Linked DNA regions of Homo sapiens: region 2 is linked to region 1. Evidence: promoter capture Hi-C in 16 types of primary human blood cells and fetal thymus (Javierre and others, 2016). All regions are on one chromosome and are shown on one strand. Each heading gives the region's core, a stretch centred on a gene start or on the middle of the fragment in contact. The rest is flanking DNA. Distances are from core to core; before and after follow the strand shown.

Region 1 (3,502 bases), core at 630-3,129:
ATGCAAGTTTCTCCATGTCACACCTCATTAACATGCTTCCAACAGCATAAGGTTAATTCTCAGTTTCTCAATTTGCAAGAGGAGGCCCTCCTCAATCAGGCAACTGCCAGGCATGCATCTTTGGTCATATATGTATTCCCAGTCTCCATGGCATCAAACTACTTATTGCCCCTTGTGTCTTCACACTAGTGGAGACCTACCCTCTCCCAACAGTACCTGAACTGCCCTGTTCCCATGTCCCTCCCCTCTGGCTAACAGCTGATCATGATGAGTGAGAGCAAGAGGAATAAATGTGCCTGCATATGACAAGTGTCATGCGGCTCAGTGTCCTGCTACTTGCATCCTCTCTCTGCAGACAGGTCTTTTACACTTACCTGTTCAGAGACCTCTCCCGTGATGGCACCAGAGTTTGTAACAGTTTATTATGTTAATTTTTCCCAAATTTTTATTATAAAAATATTCAGAATAAAACATAACAAAAGATGGGTTTATCAGTCATCCACTACCTACATTCAATAGAGTGGATTTTACCACCATCCGAAAGTAAATGACAGACTCATGAGAATTTACACCTACACACTTCAGCATCTAACCCCTAACAATAAGGGAAATTCCATGTAATCTCAATATATCAAACCTTTCTTTAAAAACTTACTAAAATGACCTGTTATCCAGTTCACGTTCAAGTTTCCTTGATTATCTCCAAAATGCCCTTTAAAACTTTAGAGACAGAATGCAATTAATACATTTAGTTGCTATGTTACTTTAATCTCCTTCAAACTTAAAGTCCTCCAGTTTTTCTCGGTGGCTTTTTGAACAAAGCAATTGTCCCAAATGTTCCACATTCTGGAAGGTTTTTTCCCCCTCTTGAGATGTTTAATTGGCTCTTTGACCCCTGTACTTTCATAAACAGTAAATTGAGACACGAATTATTGCAGTTACACCTTATCAAGGTGTTTCTATATTTACGATGGATCACAAGCAAAGGCACGAAACAGGTAAACTTCTTTTAGTGCTGCTAAATTAGATCATTGAACTAGCAAGGGGGCCAGTCCCTCCACTGCAGACACATTTGTCAGAACGGCACCTGGCAAGTTTGTGCTAATTATTGTGTATTCTCTGGTTATTGAAATTGCTTATTAAGCAGAATATAAAAGTCGGGTTATCTTGGCACTAAAACTACAATTTTAATTACGGAGGGTAATCCTAACAGTAAGGAGAAAAACACACTACCATAACCACATTTTGAGAGCTTTTAAGTGACAATGTAGCCGTTGATGTCCTCAGCCAGCCCACCAGATTTCTAATCTCTGAACACACGATTAACTTACCACCTGTATTCCATGTTGTATGTCAGCCTTGGCGTAAATTTATACTTTACAGCATTATACACCTAACAGCTTTTGGGCACCTACAGCAATAAAACACACAATATTGCTGAGTGCGTTAGTTAAGTTTCCACAATGTCAAACGTGAGCCCTTCGGAAGAAAACGTACGCGGCCCTGAAAAGGGCCATTAACGATATTGCAAGGAAAGGCCTGGCCTCACTTAACCGCCAAAGCCTTACAGGGTTCTTCCCTGGCGTTTGAGCACGTAGACCACGGCCATGGCGGTGACCGTCTTGCGCTTGGCGTGCTCCGTGTTGGTCACGGCGTACCAGATCACATTTTCCAGGAACACCTTGAACACCCGGCGGGTCTCCTCATAAATGAGGCCCAAGATGCGCTTGACACCGCCATGCCGGGCCAAGCGCCGGATAGTGCACTTGGTAATGCCCTGAATATTATCGCTCAGTACCTTGCGATGGCACTTGGCACCGCCTTTCCCAAGGCCTTTTCCGGCCTTGCCCCGAACAGACATGATAAACAAGTCAGAACTATCTCTAAACAAAACGATTACTCGCTTTCCGCAGCCTTTTATATAACGGTAGAGTAGACCTTTTTGAAAACTGAAAGACCAGGAAAGGCGGGAAAACGTATTCAGTCCCCGCTCATCTACTTCTAGTAATAACAAGACATAAGAAATTCTCTTGTAGTAGGGAGATTTGCTGGCATTTAGAGAATAAGGATCTCTAAACGAAAGTGTCAAACATGTACCTAGAGGAAAGTATCTCGATTTTTGATGTCTGTATGTGTTTAAAGATTTACTCCTGGCCGGGCGCGGTGGCTCACGCCTGTAATCCCAGCACTTTTGGAGGCCGAGGCGGGCGGATCACGAGCTCAGGAGATCGAGACCATCCTGGCTAACACGGTGAAACCCTGTCTCTAATAAAAATACAAAAAATTAGCAGGGCGAGGTGGCGGGCGCCTGTAGTCCCAGCTATGCAGGAGGCTGAGGCAGAAGAATGGCATGAACCCCGTGGGGTGGAGCCTGCAGTGAGCCGAGATCACGTCACTGCACTCTAGCCTGGGCAAGGGCGAAGCCCGTCTCAAAAAAGAAAAAAAAAAGATTTACTCCTTCCCTGTATATTAGAGCATTTACCATGCTGAAGTTGAAACAAGCCCAAATTCCAAGACATAAAAGAATTCCTAATCATATTGCCAAGCCGCCCAGCTAAAGAGAAGTAGCCTGGTTTTTGGTTTCGAATCTGTGAGTGACTGCTCTCTCACCGATATTAGACATGTTAATCTGAGTTTCAATGGCCCTATCTGTAAAAAGGGTAAATACTTGTTAATAATTGAGTTACTTTAAGCAAAACACTGGCATATAGTTAGTAAATGATTTTTTTTTAAAATACGGAGTTTCGCTCTTGTTGCCCAGGCTGGAGTGCAATGGCGCAATCTCTGCCCACTGCAACCTCCACCTTCTGGGTTCAAGCTATTCTCCTACCTCGGCCTCCCAAGTAGCTGGAATTACAGGTATGTGCCACCACTCCCGGCTCATTTTTGTATTTTAGTAGAGACCAGATTTCACGTTGGCCAGGCTGGTCTCCAACTCCTGCCCTCAGGTGATCCGCCCGCCTTGGCCTCCCAAAGTGCTGGGATTACAGGCGTGAGCCACCTCACCGGCCAGTTGGTAAACGAATTCTTATTGCCACAGCCTTTTTTTACAGACAAAATAATAATGCAGAGGTAAAGCACACCGAAGGATTTTAAAACATTGCCTTTGCAACACCAATACATTCAGTGTGCTTTCACTTATATTAAGCACTATACAATTAAGCAATGAAGAATTGCCCAGAAAAAAGATAATGTAAATTGCCAGAGGCTCCATGCCCTGTTCTCATGTGGAGGACAGAAGGTACAGGGGGTGACTGTCTTCTGGGGTTGATACAACAGGAAACTCAGGGAAAGCTGTCATAAATGTTAATAGGAGAAAAGGGGAATTTGCTCACAAGCCAAAATAAAGACATAAGCACCACTAAATTTTTACATTACAAAATACTTGCTGAGCTAGTTAAACGAGAGCATTTAAGTGGAAATAAATGATGTCTCTAAAATAGAATGTTCAAAATAACAATGGATTTTTTATTGTGCAGTTACGATGCACCAAACAAACAGT
Region 2 (3,420 bases), core at 812-3,311, 1.2 Mb after region 1:
GGTTACAGTCCATAAGCCACTGAACCCAGCCCTCAGAAACCTTTTGTGCTTAAAAAAACACCTCAGCAAAATACAAAGCAACTAGTGATATATTTGAACTGAAATTACTAATCAACTTTGGCTTGTTTTACTGTAACAATGACTAGGGACTGGCCACAGCTGCAATCTTACTTGTTTTACTGGGCTGAAAACAAAAACATAGTAGAATGGATCTCAGTAAAGGTAGAGAGTCAGGACTTAGTTGCAGGAAACAAAAACCAGTCCAGTTTCTACTTTAGCCCTAAATTGGAAACAAATCAAATGTCCTTCTATACTTAAAAAGGCAAATTGTCAGTTTTTCTTCAAATACAAGGAATACAAAGAAAATACATTTTTTTTCTACAAAGAAAAAAAAGTTAGCTAGGAGTGGTGGTGCATGCTTCTATTCCTAGCTACTCTGGAGGCTGAGGCAGAAGGATGGCTTGTGCCCAAGAGTTCAGGTTACAGTAAGCTATGATGGTGCCACTGCACTCCAGTCTGTGTGATAGAGTAAGACCCTGATTCTAAAATTTTTTTAAATTTCTTAAAAGAGATTTGATATTTCTTTGGTATCTAACTTTATTCAAAGCTGGAGTTGCAAATGATTTCAGCAAAAAAAAATAAAGATGTGCTTGATAAAAATATGTCCACCAAATAAAAAGGATGTGATATGCATTAACTATGAACAACAATCTATAGCACAACTTATATTTGTATGGACACCTGGCTACCCCATCAAACTGCTTCATGTCTATTCCCTCAAATTATGGTCTTCCATAAAACTAGTGAATTTCTTTTAGTCTTCTTTTGAGCCTGTAGGGGTGAGAGAATCTTTTTTCTCCCTTCTGGAGGTTGGATATTTGAGTCTGAGAAATAAAGCTGCTAGTAGACAGATTAACAGAAGAAAAGGCATACACATTTATTATGCACATATGCACAGAGGTCCCAGAAAGTGTAAGTGAGACTCAAAGAAGGGGCAGATGGTTGAAGCTTAAATAGGACTTGGAGCTACATAAAGAAATAGGAGCTTGAAGGCTCCTGGAAGGTGGTGGCGAGAAGCAATGTGAGGGTCAGGGCAGGAACAGCTCTGGGAACAAAGCTTGTCTTATTATACAGATAAAGTCTCTCAAGTAGCAGCCCTCAGAATAGGTGGTGAAGAAAAGAATTGAAGTCTGGCTGGGCGAGATGTCCCGGGCATGGAGACCTTTAGTTTTCTCTCCTGGGATCTGAGTTAATCTTCTCTGGTTAATACAGATTCCAGGAGAGGGTTCATGACAATCTCTTTCCTTCTGGAGGAACCTCCGTAAGTCAAATAAGGGAAACTTCAGTGAAAGCCCCTCCCTGCCATTCAAGAAAGAAAGAGGATCAGGAGGCAGTGGGGCTGCGGAAGGTCAGAGAGACTTTGATTCTGAGGTTGCTTCTTTAGTTCAAAGTACTCAGCACTTCCAAGAGCCATACTTTGGGGTATCATTTTCTGAGCTCTAACAAGGGTCCTCAGAAAATCTCTGTCTCTTCCCTTCCCGGTCTTCCTTCGTTTCTCCTCTTCCTCTTCCTCCTCTTCTTTCTCCTTCATCCTCTTCTTTCTACCTCCTGTCCCTCCTTCCTTTCTCTCTTCTCCTTTCTGGTCACTTTCTTCTTTTCCTCTTCCTTCTTGTCCCTCTTCCTCATTTATCTACTTAGTCGACATGATTTCTTAGCTTGCGATTGTTTCCCTCTTTTCTTAGATTAGTATATGGTTCCAAGAAGTAGATGAAAGCCAATTACAATAATCTGTGCATCCAAAGGGCTCAGGGAAACTCCAGGACCGGCAGCTTTAGACTTCAAGACGGAAGCATAAGAGGAAAAGAAAACATACTGCGTGGGTTAGATTTTGAGAGAAGGAGCGTCTGCCTTGGCCAAAAATCAAAGTAGGATCTTCCTTTTGATAGGTAACCTGGTTCCATGGGAACTCATGAACAATCTATAAATTTCTTTCTTAACCCAACTGAAGCGTGGAAGCGCATTGTGAAATGCAAAATGCCGTGCAAACGAGACCGGGTAGATATACTCCCTTGGGTTGGTGTGAGCCTAGAGACTTAGGGACCTCATCAGAGCAAGAAAGTGCAAGTAGGCTTTTCTGCATCATTTTCTGGCCCTCCAGTTCAGACACAAATCAAAAGTTAGTCCCTTCTTGAAAGCCATTAGCATTCATCAAGGAGCCTCAATGAGAGGAAGTTTCAAACAAAAACTAAATGTGTCAGGCCCAGATTTACGGTGAGGGTCTGATTCCACTTCCTTGCGGGGTCAGTTTGGGTCCAGGTGAGAGAGGTACAGTGGTCTCTAGTTTTCTGGAAACGGTACTGCTGATAGGGCAAGGACTCCTTGCGGCTGCCCCAGAGAGGTTGGCTTGTCTTATCCAACTTGCACTTCACGTTAGAGTTTCTAATGAACTCGCAGACTCCAGTTTCTTGCCCAGGAAACCATTTTTACCGTATTTTGTTCTTTTGACCGTTTCTTGTCAGTTAGCTGGTGTAAATTCTGTTTAAAGATGTGAAGGGAGCCTTCTCCATTCGTGTAGTCGTGGCCGAGTGGTTAAGGCGATGGACTAGAAATCCATTGGGGTCTCCCCGCGCAGGTTCGAATCCTGCCGACTACGGGATGTTTTACTGAGAACAGTTCAGCGAGGAAATAGGATCTCACATTTGCTTTCAGTTTGGGAGTAAAGAAACTCGTGATAGAGCCTCTGCGTGTCACCTAACATAGCCTGAACTTTTGCCGACTTCGGGATGTTTTACTGAGAACAGTTCAGAGAGGAAATACGATGTCATATTTGCTTTCAGTTTGGGAGTAAAGGAACTCGTAATAGAGCTTCTGCGTGCCACTTAACGCAGCCTGAACTTTTGCCGACTTCGGGATGTTTTACTGAGAACAGAGAGGAATCGTATTTACTTCAGAGAGGAAATACGATGTCATATTTGCTTTCAGTTTGGGGGCGAGGGAACTCGTGATAAAGCTTCTGCGTGCCACTTGACGCATCCTGAACTTTAAAAATACATCTGCAGACTCTTTATCTATTTTACCTCAACGGAGCGCAGGTATTGGTCCCACCTCTGCTTTTCCTGTCTTTGAAACCAACCGATGCACCTTTCGGGATTTGTAACTCCTATGTTAGCTAGGGCTCCAACCATGGTTGAACATAGACGGAAACCAGTGCGTCACAAAGGAGGCTAGCGAGAGTTCTTTTTTAAAAGGGTCTGACAAAGCGTCCGAGGAATGAAGGAGGAACTGGAGAGGATTCGCGGTTGGGCGGAGACACGTTCGCTGAATTGCCTTGCGTATATTTGGTAGGGGAAACGTGTGACTACAGAGCAAAGAAAGATGGACAATAGCGAGTAACTTCACAGGGATTTCCTAAGAGCTCCA

What was found. The method cuts DNA at HindIII sites, captures the fragments that hold promoters and counts their contacts. A CHiCAGO score of 5 or more calls a contact.
Region 2: a contact is called between a fragment that was not itself captured here and the fragment with the promoter of H4C7 in region 1, in 2 of 17 cell types (naive CD8 T cells and naive B cells). The highest score is 5.6, in naive CD8 T cells.

Annotation. Positions count from the first base shown.
Region 1 is chr6:26,245,117-26,248,618 of GRCh38, forward strand. It overlaps H4C7 (H4 clustered histone 7), which reads right to left and starts at 1,880. Exons shown (of 1, transcript NM_003547.3): 1 at 1,495-1,880. The coding sequence starts at 1,861. The coding sequence ends at 1,565. The HindIII fragment of the contact is 5,476 bases long and covers 1-3,502 here.
Region 2 is chr6:27,476,241-27,479,660 of GRCh38, forward strand. TRS-AGA2-2 (tRNA-Ser (anticodon AGA) 2-2) reads left to right here and starts at 2,572; the gene lies at 2,572-2,653. The HindIII fragment of the contact is 1,893 bases long and covers 1,116-3,008 here.